2 separate regions of the Homo sapiens genome follow, and region 1 is linked to region 2. The links are contacts of gene promoters, found by promoter capture Hi-C in blood cells and fetal thymus (Javierre and others, 2016). All regions are on one chromosome and are shown on one strand. The core of a region is centred on a gene start or on the middle of the fragment in contact, and the rest is flanking DNA. Distances in the headings are between cores, read along the strand shown. Region 1 holds the start of CEP135 (centrosomal protein 135). Region 2 overlaps POLR2B (RNA polymerase II subunit B).

Region 1 (6,356 bases), core at 48-2,547, 1.0 Mb before region 2:
AAATCCTCCTGCTCCACCCATTGGTCTTTCTGGTCCTCTGCTTTCCCGCAACAATGGGAGTCTTCAAGCGGCCAGTGCCTTTTTCGTTCTTAACTGCCCAATCCGTGCCAGCAGAAGGCAGCTTTAAACCAAAGTGAAAGAGCTGAAGCAAAAAAGAAAGAAAATAAAAAGTCCCAGTTCTTCTGGGCTTACCTCCTGGCTGGCTCACCAAAATATGTTACCAGATTGGAAGTTGGGAGTTCCAGGTTCTTGGTGTTATGAACAAAGAATTGGATGAGACACACAAATAACCACCCCACAAGATTTATTAAGCAAAGAATATACCAGAGAGAGGAACGGGCTTATCTTCAAGTGGTGTCAGCCCTGGATTAATATAGCCTTTGTTCTTTTATACCCACTTCCTACACTTCTTTAACTCTAGGGAGGGGATTTCCTATAATTGTCATATCTGTTTTCTTGTTTTTTCTCTCTTAGTGCGCCTGCGTGAGCTTGCCATAATTTTAAGTGTATGTATGATAGGCATTCCATAGGTATGAGCTGGTCAGTCTTCTGACTTCCTTCCCTATTCTGCTGCCTCAGAAGGCCTATTTGGGAGAAAAGTAAACAGGAAAGAATGAAACTCCCTCTGACTGTCTGGGAAATTTTCAGGGGAGAAATGGAATTCTAGGATTTTACTATGTGTTTTCCATCTGTGAGTGGACTATAACGGTTTATTTCAATTTAATTCCACTCACAAATGTTTTGCTGAGTAGAATAGTCTCTGACTCAAGGAATTCACATTTGGGGGCGGCAGAGAGAGACGGATCAACAAATGATTGTATTTTGATGGATGAATTCTATGGTTCTACAGAGAGCCTGCGGGAGATACTATTGTGGGATAATTAATTGCATTGGGTGGTTGTCAGGGAAAGTTGCAGAGACAACGTGATATCTGCGTTTGGGGATTACGTGGTGAGCAGGCGTTCACCTTGCAGGTGAAGGCTACTCCGCTGCAGGGACCGGTACTGGGGCGGCGTTTGTTCCCCGCACGCAGTAGGTGATCCACACCTCCCGCCGACAGGAGGAAGAGGATGCCAGCTCAGGCACCAGCTGAGGTTTGGCATTTGCTGGCCGCGGGCGCCGACCTCCAGGGGGCGCCGTGGCCTCGCGCTGTCCGGGCCGTTGCATTTCCGGGCACTGGGGCTCCGCCATCGTCGCCAAGCGCGTCCCCGCCGCGAGCCGCTAATCGTCCGCCGCTCCCGTTACCGGGGCAACCGCGGCGCCTCCTCCGTGTCGGCCCCGATCGTCCCTCCGCGCCATTTTCAAACTGCTCTAGCGCCGGAGCCCGTGCCTGGACGGAAGGAGCTAGTGGGGGACTCGAGGCCTGAGGGCAATGCGGCTGGAGGCGGAGGCAACGGCGGCTGGAGCTGCCGGTGAGTCCGGATGTGGGAGCCAGAGGGCCAGCTGCGGCGGTGGTGGCGCCTTCGCCTTCTGGGCGGTACCCGCGGGCCGGGCTCGGGCACTGCCGGGAGGCCGCGCGGCCGCGGGAGGAAGTGAGGCCAGGCCGGGTCAGACCGGGCGGGGAGGGGCGCGGGGACTCTTCCCACCCACCCCGCTCCCACACCCCCTTCCCGTCAACACCCGACGGTAAAGTTGCAAACCGGAGATTGGGTGGAGGAGAGCTTGGGCCGACTCGTCAAGGAGCGTCTGTGTGGGCCGTGCAGACAGGCTTGCTGTTGACCAATGGATAGATTTAAACATTAAAATGCCTTCTCAGTGTAGCAGTCATCCATGCTCTTTGTAACAAAAATGTCGCAAAGCGTAGGACGACAGCCTTTAATTAACCTTTGCCCAGCTCCTTTGAAGCCTCTCCACTGCTTTCCAGCCTTTACTACTTTGAGTTCAATAAGAAAGGACTCTGAGATAACCACAGCTAACGGGTTTCTTTGTTGTCGTTTGGGGTTTCTTGTTTATCTTCTTAAGCCCTGTGCACACATACATACAGCATTAAATGTACTGGTTTTGAGACGCCAACCCCCAGAGTTAAGTAGATGGATACTTCTACACATATATGTATGGGGGACCCCCAAACCTAACCTTTTATGTTGCTTTGCTAGAAACTTAGAGTATAGCCACCATATTTGGATGGGGGTTATGGGGAAAGACAACAGTTCATGGGTGGGGACGGCCTAACATGTTTCTATCTGGGAGGATTTTAATCCGTCCTGTGTATTGAGGCCCTGGCCATGATTTATTGATTCATATTCATTCTCATTCTCTCCCCTCCAAAGCAGGATGTGAGGAGGTATTATCTCTGGGTAACTGGAGTTGGTAGCAAAGAGGGGAAATGTTTTGAGTGGTGCACCGCCTGTAAGTTTACACCCTGCTAGTAATACACCTGGATTTGTCAGGTGTATTTCTGATGTCTGCAGGAATTTCCCTAAAAACCCTGCATCACTTAGGTGTCTCTTGTGGAAAGAACCTAGGAAATCTATGAGGAAGCCATTCAAAAAAAGTTAACAAGAGCAAAGAGAAAGATATACAGAAAGGAGTGACCAAGGAGAGACTCAGGAGACCTGGTCTCTGATGACTGCCCACCTACTTTGTGGCCCCGTGGTTTTGGAAGAGTTACTTTCTTGAGGCAGCCTTTCCTCATGTTTAAGTAGGGATAATATCATTGGTCTTTCTCCCTCACAGGGTAGCTGTGAGGATCGACTTTTACATGTATGCTCATGCATGTAATGCATTTTTTATATATTGTGAAGAACAACAGATGTAAAACAAAATTTTTATTTGGCTTAGAAATACGAGTACCATGACTACAGTTAGTTAGCAAAGGTTAGAAAAGAGCAGAGTTTCTAAAGAAATGATCTTTGGGCTGAGCATATTGGCTCACACCTGTAAACCTAGCACTTTGGGAGGTAGAGGTGGGAGAATACCTTGAGCTCAGGAGTTGGAGACCAGCCTGGGCCACATAGCAAGACCCTGTCTCTAAAAAAGGTAACAATTAAAATAAAAAAAAAAAAGAAATGCTCTTTGGATAACTCCATTTTAGGGCAGATTGATAGGAATATATTCATAAATATTTAAAAAGACAAAGATAAAAACTTGAACAGAGGTACTTATGTGTGTCTTTTTTTTTAATTGAAGTGAAATTTACATGATGAAATGCATAGAGTTTAAGTGTACTATTTGAAAAGTAAATTCTCTAAATGTATACACTTGTGTAACCACTACCCCAATCAATGTAATATTTTCATTACCCTAAAAAGTTGTGTCTTAACTCTTAACGGGCAATCTGCAGCCCGCCTCACCTCCCCAGACAACTCTTGTTTTAATTTCTGGCCCCATAGTTTTAATTTTACTTGTTCATCAACTTCATGTAAATGGAGTCATACAGTATTTGTCTGGTTTCTTTTGCTCAAATAATGTTTTTGAGATTCATCCATGCTGTTGATGTGTATCAGTAGTTCCTTTTATCCCTTAGTATTGCACTGTATAAATATATCATACTTTACCCCTTCTGCTGTTGATGGGGGTTTAGGTTGTTTCCAGTTTGGGGCTACTATGAGTAAAGCTGTGAACATTCTTGTAGAGTATTTTTGTGAATATTTTTTATTTCTATAAATACCTGGGAATAAAATCACAGGGTTATAGTCCAGAAGTATGTTTAACTTTATAAAAAAACTGCCAGACTTTTTCCAAAGTGATTTTACATTCCTGTCAGCAATGTGTGAAGATTCCAGTTGCTCCAGATCTTTGTCGACATTTGCTATTGTCGGTCCTTGTAATTTTAGTCATTCTAGTTTGGGAGAAAATGTACCTTGTTGTTTTAATTTGTATTTCCATGTTGACTACTGTTGAGCACCATTTCATATCATCATTCCCATTCAGACACCTATGCGAGGTGTCTGTTCGAATCTTTAGCGCAACTAAATTACAGTTTTAGCCCAAATTAATGTTCTTATTGGGATGTTTGTCTTATTATTGAGTTGTAAGAATTCCTTTTATATTCCCTATACAAATCCTTTGTCAGATATTGTGAATATTTTCTCCCACTCTTTGGTTTGCCTTCTCTATTTTAATTGAGTATTTTGATGAGCAGACATTTTAAATTTTGATGAAGTCCAATTTATCAAATTTATCTTTTATGTTTAGTGCTTTTAAAAGAGGCCTCTCTGAGAAGTCTCTGCCTACTTCAGGCTTAGGAAAAATCTTTGTTTTCTCCTAGAAGCTTTAGGATTTTAACTTTTACATTTAGTTGTATGAGGAAGTATTTATTTTAATGCAGTAACAGGAATATCATAAGCATTGGCTTTAAATCTGAATTTTCCAGAAGGCTACCTACCTGAAGAAAAACAAAAAATAATTGCTTCATATTAAAATAATTTTTTCTTCTTATTGTGAAACAACAATCATAGCTATAATAAGATAATGATGTTTCATTCTTTTCTCTCAGGACTTTAATTTTTGGAAGTGAATAAAACTTGTTTTAGAAGACGAGATGACTACAGCTGTAGAGAGAAAGTATATTAATATTAGGAAAAGGCTGGATCAGCTGGGATACCGCCAGACTCTGACAGTGGAGTGTTTACCTTTGGTAGAAAAACTTTTCAGGTAAAGACAAAAATACAGTTTTCAACCTTTATGATCCCTAACCACTTACCTCATTTCTGATTGAACTTCATGCTTTGGTAAAGAAAAGGGTAGCTTTCCGGAAAGGCTTTCAATCATGAAGCTTATCTGTTTTTTCCCTGTCCTCAATCCAGGCCTTCCACACGGCAGAACTCTAAAGGCCACCACTCACGCTGTACTGTTCAAAGTCAACATTTCTGGGGGTTTTCTCTGTGAATGGAATTACAGTTTTTTGGGTTTCTGATATAATTGAGAGACACTTTTCCCTTAAGTTCTTTTTTTTTCCCCCCCTTAAGTTCTATGTCTGCTTCACTGGTCTTCAAATACAGTCATGGATAGTTTCATGACAGGGATACGTTCTGAGAAACATGTCATCATTAGGTGATTTTTTCGTTGTACCAACATCATAGGGTGTGCTTACACAAACCTAGATGGTGTCGCCTACCACAAACCTAGGCTATATGGTCTGTATCCTATGGCTCCTAGGCTACAAACCTGTATAGCATGTTACTATACTGAATACTGTAGGTAATTGTTAACACAGTGGTGCCTATTTGTATATCTGAACATATCTAAACATAGAAAAGGTATTGTGTTGTGCTACAGTGTTACAATGGCCAGATCTCATGAGGCAATAGGAATTTTTCAGCTGCCCCCATTATAAATCTTACAGGACTACTCTCCTTCCTATATGTGGTCTGTCGTTGACCAAAATGTCATCATGTGGTGCATGACTGTATTTTAAGCCTCTTTAGAAATATGTTTTTAGTTATTAGAAAGTTAATGAAATATTTCCTGGTATTTAAATTTTCTGTTCTTTTAGCGACTTAGTTCATACAACTGAGAGCCTTCGGCAATCAAAATTATCTGCTGTGAAAGCTGAAAAAGAAAGTGCCAATTTTGATTTTGTTTTGGAACCCTATAAACTTGAAAATGCAAGATTGAGTAGAGAAAATAATGAATTATACCTAGAGTTAATGAAACTGAGAGAACATTCAGACCAACACGTTAAAGGTAAGTGAAAATTTGATAATTTTTAAAATGCAATGTCTTTGTCCTTTTTATTTTAGAAGGAAAAGCTAACGTCTAATTTTAAAACTATTGATTAGAAAATATAGTAGTCCTACAGCTGGATGGTGTGTGCCTATAGTCCCAGCTACTCGGGAGTTTAAGGTGGGAGGATTGCTTGAGCCCAGGAGTTTGAGACCAGCCTAGGCAACATAGTGAGAACTTGTTTCAAAAAAAAAGAAAAGAAAAGAAAATATGGTACTCCTTCTGCTAATAGCCCCTGAAATACTATAGGGTATGTTGAAGAGTTCCTGAGAAGGAAAATAAATGTGCATTATATAGCTATGATAATCACTATATGTGGATTAAATTTTTAGAATTAAAAATTTAATTAAAATTTTAGAATTAAAATTGCCATAGGGAATATTAAATGCTGGATTTGAAGAAATGTTCTTGAAACAACTTTTGTTTTTCCCTTACTGAAAATAAAAGTAGTAAATAAGGTGAAAACCATGTATCATGCTGACTGTTTTATAGTCAGTCTTTGAGCTGTCAAGTAGAATAGGATGATTTCAAAGGTACTAGGGAAAAGATAATTATATGGTTATCTTTGTATGAATTATTCTTATATTCAGTAGAAAACTTTATCTAATCCATGGTATGAATTCATAATCCTTTAGCTTCAGACCCAATTTACTGGATCAAAAGCTATGATGTACGTTAGGCTAATACAG
Region 2 (4,600 bases), core at 910-3,409:
CACTTACCAGGCCGGGAACGAAACTGGGGTAGGGAGAGGCGGAGGGTGCAGGGAACATAGTGTTAATGTTCCAGGTTACGTTCACTGCTGCTCTCTGCACTTTCTCGTTCCGTTAGATCTGATCCTCGTTTCCTGTGGTGAAGTAGCGTGCAGAATCGTAAGATAAATTACGTTTTGAATTTGAAGCAAAGGGCACCCTTTAAAAATTTTCCTTAAAGCCACAGTCGACTTAACGAATAGCTCAATTGTTGAGTGTCAGCCTGTGTCAGGCAGTGTGGAAGGTCCTGGAAATATTCCGGGACAGAGAATATCGGGGGGTGGGGGTGGCGGGGGGGACTCGGTTTAGTCTGACATTTCTTCATACTGTTTGTAAGTCAAAGTAAATTGTCTTAAAGGATGACTTTTAACTTCCTCTTCTCACAATGTCACAGTTCTCAGATGATATGTATTCTGCTGCACTGGGCCAATGTATAATACCTGTTTGTTTGCGCATATGGAATTCTTAGTAGTGGCCGAGCGCGGTGGCTCCCGTCAGCACTTTGGGAGGCCGAGATGTGCAGATCGCTTGAGACCAACCTGACAAACATGGGGAAATCCTGTATCTACTAAAAATACAAAAATTAGCCTAGTGTGATGGCGTGCGCCTGTAATCCCAGCTACTCGGGAGGCTGAGGCCGGACGATCGCTTGAGCCCAGGAGGCGGAGTTTGCAGTGAGCTGAGATCGCACCACTACACCACAGCCTGAGTGACAGAGTTAGACTGTCTCAAAAAAAAAAAAAAAAAATTCTTAGTTGAGTCTAGTGTATTTTCGTAGCCGCCTTTTCCATTCTCCATATCTGCTAATTCAAACCTTATTTTCTTATAGCTCTCAATTCCTTGGCCACCCCCTACATCTCCTCTCTCTATTCCCTCAGGTACTTCTGATAAATCAGATGGAAAAAATTGAAGCAAAAGCTTAATTTTTTTTTTTTTTTTTTAAGAGATGGGGTCTGGCCATGTTGCCCAGGCTGGTCTCAAACTCCTGAGGTCAAACCATCTGCCTGTCTCGGCCTCCCAAAGTGCTGGGATTACAAGCATGAGCCAATGTGCCCAGCCAAAAGCTTAAACTTTTAAAGCTGTTTAAACTTCTGTCTCATTTATATCTTGTGTTGTAGAAATTTATTAGCATCATTATATTCCTTGTTCTTTTTTAACTACTATCTCAGTAGAAGAAAAATTCGAAAAAAAAGATTTTTAAAGCATAATTTTTGGCTGGGTAATATATTCTCATAGCTCACAAGCCAGAAAATTTAAAAATGTTAAAGTGGGGTGGCTGGTGCAGTGGCTCACGCCTGTTATCCCAGCATTTTGGGAGTCTGAGGCGGGTGGATTACTTGAGCTCAGGAGTTCGAGAGCAGCCTGGGCAACATGGGAGACCCCTCTCTATAAGAAATAGAAAAATTAGCTGGGCGTGGTCTTGCTCACCTATAGTCCCAGCTACTTGTGGGGCTGAGGCTGGAGGATCGCTTGAGCCTGGGAAGTTGACACTGCTATGAGCTGAGAACAAAGTGAGACCTTGTCTCAAAAAAAACAAGTTAAAGTGTCACGTCTCCTTCTTACCCACCATCTGCCCAGTTTGAACTCTCCACAGTGGGTAACTACAGTTATAACAGTTATAAGAGGTTCTTATCACTCCACAGTTTCTTTTTTTTTTTTTGATGGTCTTGCTCTGTTGCCCAGGCTTGAGTGTGGTGGCGCAATCTCGGCTCACTGTAACCTCCATCTCCCAGGTTCAAGCAGTTCTCCTGCCTCAGCCTCCCGAGTAGCTGAGATTACAGGCGTACACCACCGTGCCCAGCTAATTTTAGTATTTTTAGTAGAGATGGTTTCTCCACGTTGGCCAGGCTGATCTCAAACTCCTGACCTCAGGTGATTCACCTGCCTCGGCCTCCGAAAGTGCTGGGATTGCAGGTGTGAACCTCCAAGCCCAGCCTCCACAGTTTCCTTATGCATATTTAAGCAAATATAAATGGGATTTTCTCTTTTTTTAAAGACAGTAATATTCACACTTTTCTCCACTTTTAGATTTTGTTTAATGTGTCCAGGAGATTTTCGTATCAGTACACAGAAAGCATCGCGCCCCCCCTCCCGTGTCCCCACCCCCAGTTACTTAGTTTGTGTGGATGTACCATAACTTAAGTAGTCTCTTGATGGATATTCGGTTTATTTCTAGTCATTTTCGGGTTCAAACAGTGCTGTAAATGAATAATCTTGTACGTATAATTTGCCCAAGTATGTCTGTGGGATACATTTCTACATATAAAATTGTCAGGTCAAATGATATGCACGTTTAACATTTTGCTAGATGATGCCAAGTGACCACCATAGTGGTGATTGTACTAATTTTGCATTCTTATTAGCAATGTATAATGATCCTGTGGAAAAAGAGTTTATCAGGGTTGCTTTAGCAGTGAACCTACATTTTATTGCCCATGTCCTCTGAAATGTTTATTAGATAACGTCCTCATCAGTTTTCAGTCACTATGTGAAAATGTCAGATTTCTGTCATCCACATGGAAACAAGTTAAATTCTTTTCATTGTTACCTTTTTCTTCTAGTATTTTACCTTTCTTCTTTCACTCACAGCCAAACTTATAAAAATAATAAGCTGTCCTTGTTTCTAATTTTCATCTTTCATGTGCTTTTCAACTGATTACAATATGTTTCTACTCATGCTACTACATTAAGATAGCTCTAAGATTGACAGCGACTTCTCAATTGATAAATGAGATGGATATTTAAAACTTATCTAAACCCTGTGGTCTTCAAAACTGTTGATGACATCTTCCCGGAAACTCACTCAGCTTTCTAGCGACATCACTTTCACTTGATTTTTCTTATCTGACTTTTCTCATTTTCTTTCCTGTTCACATTCTCCTTGGGTGATCTCATCCATTTTCCATTGTTTCAGTTACCATCTGTATGCGGATAACTTCTGAATGTGTATACTTCTAGTTTAAAATCTGGGGTATCTAACTGCCACTAGCCAACTAGGATATCTCCCAGGCTGCTTAACCTTGTCAACTGCCCAAACTGAGCTAATTATTTTCTTTTGCTATTCCCCTCCCAAAGCCACTGCCTCCTGTCTTCTCTGTCTCGGTGAAGGGCACATTTGGCCCTCTGTATCTGTAGGTTTCACATCTGTATATTCAATTAACCTTGGATTGAAAATATTAAAAAGCTTGAGGCCAGGAATTTGAGACCAGCCTGGGCAACATAGGGAGACCTCATCTCTACAAAAAAATTTAAAAAATTAGCTGGGCATGGTGGCATGTGCCTGTGATCCCAGCTCCTCGGGATACTGAGGTGGGAGGACTGCTTGAGCCCTAAGAATTTGAGGCTACAGTGAGCTGTGATCACACCACTGCACTTCAGCCTGGGTAACAGCAAGGCCCTGTCTCAAAAAACAAAAAAGAGAATATTAAAAAAAAATTGCGTCCTTGTAAAAATGTACAGACTTTTTTTTTCTTGCCATTATTCCATAAACATTACAAGTAAATAATTATTTATATAGCATTTACATTGTATTAGGTATTATAAATAATCTAGAGATAATTTAAAAGATACAGGAGGATGTGTGCCTAGGGTATATAACAGTGCCATTTCATGTCAGGGACTTAAGCATCTGTGTTTGGTATCTATGGGAGGTCCTGAAACCAGTCTCCAATGGACACTGAGGTACAACTGTTGTACCCTCTGTTGTTGAAACCGAAAGCCTGGGCATCATTTTTGACTCCTCTCTTTCACCTCTATATCTAATCAGTCACCAAGCCCTGTTGGTTCTGTCTCCTAAATATGTCAAATCTGGCCACTTCTCTATCCCCTCCACCATCATTCTAGTTCATGTTGCTGCCATCCCTTGCCTAGATTACTCCTAACTGATTTGTATACTTCCAATCCACTCTCCACACTGGCCATAGGGATCTTTCAGAAATGAAAATCTGACCTAGCCACAACCCTGCTAAACTCATATCTCTTGGTAAAGGCCAAACTCTTCTTATTCCACTTCCAACTTCACAATCTGTGCTTCCGCTACATTGGCCTTCTATCATTCTTTGAATATGCCATCCTGTCTTGCATTATGGGGTCTTTTGCACAATTTGTTTTTTTCTATTTGGTAGGATTCTTTCTTGACTCCTACCTTTGTCCCTTCCTTTTGCCTGATTACTCCTGTTTATAACACGAGATCTCTGCTCAGGTTTTTTTTTTTTTTTTTTTTTTGAGATGGAGTTTCCCTTTGTCCCCCAGGCTGGAGTGCAGTGGTGTGATATCGGCTCACTGCAACCTCTGCCTCCCAGGTTCAAGTGATTCTTCGCCTCAGCCTCCTGAGTAGCTGGGATTTCAGGGATGCGCCACCATGCCCTTCTAATTTTTGTATTTTTAGTAGAGACGGGGTTTCACCATGCTGGCCAGGCTGCTCTCAAACTCTTGGCCTTGTGATCCACCTGCCTTGGGTTCCCAAACTGCTGGGATTACAAGCGTGAGCCACTGCGCCCGGCCAGCTTTTTAAAGAAAATTTTAGAGACGGGGGTCTCGCTTTGTGGCTCAGGCTGGTCTCGA

Evidence for each region. The method cuts DNA at HindIII sites, captures the fragments that hold promoters and counts their contacts. A CHiCAGO score of 5 or more calls a contact.
Region 1: the fragment with the promoter of CEP135 here is called in contact with a fragment that was not itself captured in region 2 in 4 of 17 cell types (non-activated CD4 T cells, total B cells, total CD8 T cells and 1 more); the score reaches 7.3 in non-activated CD4 T cells.

The regions. Positions count from the first base shown.
Region 1 is chr4:55,947,648-55,954,003 of GRCh38, forward strand. It overlaps CEP135 (centrosomal protein 135), which reads left to right and starts at 1,298. Exons shown (of 26, transcript NM_025009.5): 1 at 1,298-1,412; 2 at 4,439-4,596; 3 at 5,438-5,628. The coding sequence starts at 4,484. EXOC1-AS1 (EXOC1 antisense RNA 1) reads right to left here and starts at 365. Exons shown (of 5, transcript XR_941069.4): 1 at 193-365. LOC124900705 (a long non-coding RNA gene) reads right to left here. Exons shown (of 3, transcript XR_007058124.1): 3 at 4,744-4,824. RefSeq lists enhancers at 107-256, 875-1,839 and silencers at 1,054-1,193, 1,244-1,703. The HindIII fragment of the contact is 6,740 bases long and covers 1-4,211 here.
Region 2 is chr4:56,979,130-56,983,729 of GRCh38, forward strand. All of the region lies in intron 1 of POLR2B (RNA polymerase II subunit B), which reads left to right. Among named protein-coding and RNA genes, the nearest start is that of POLR2B, 2.5 kb to the left of the region's middle. RefSeq lists an enhancer at 41-140. The HindIII fragment of the contact is 2,120 bases long and covers 1,100-3,219 here.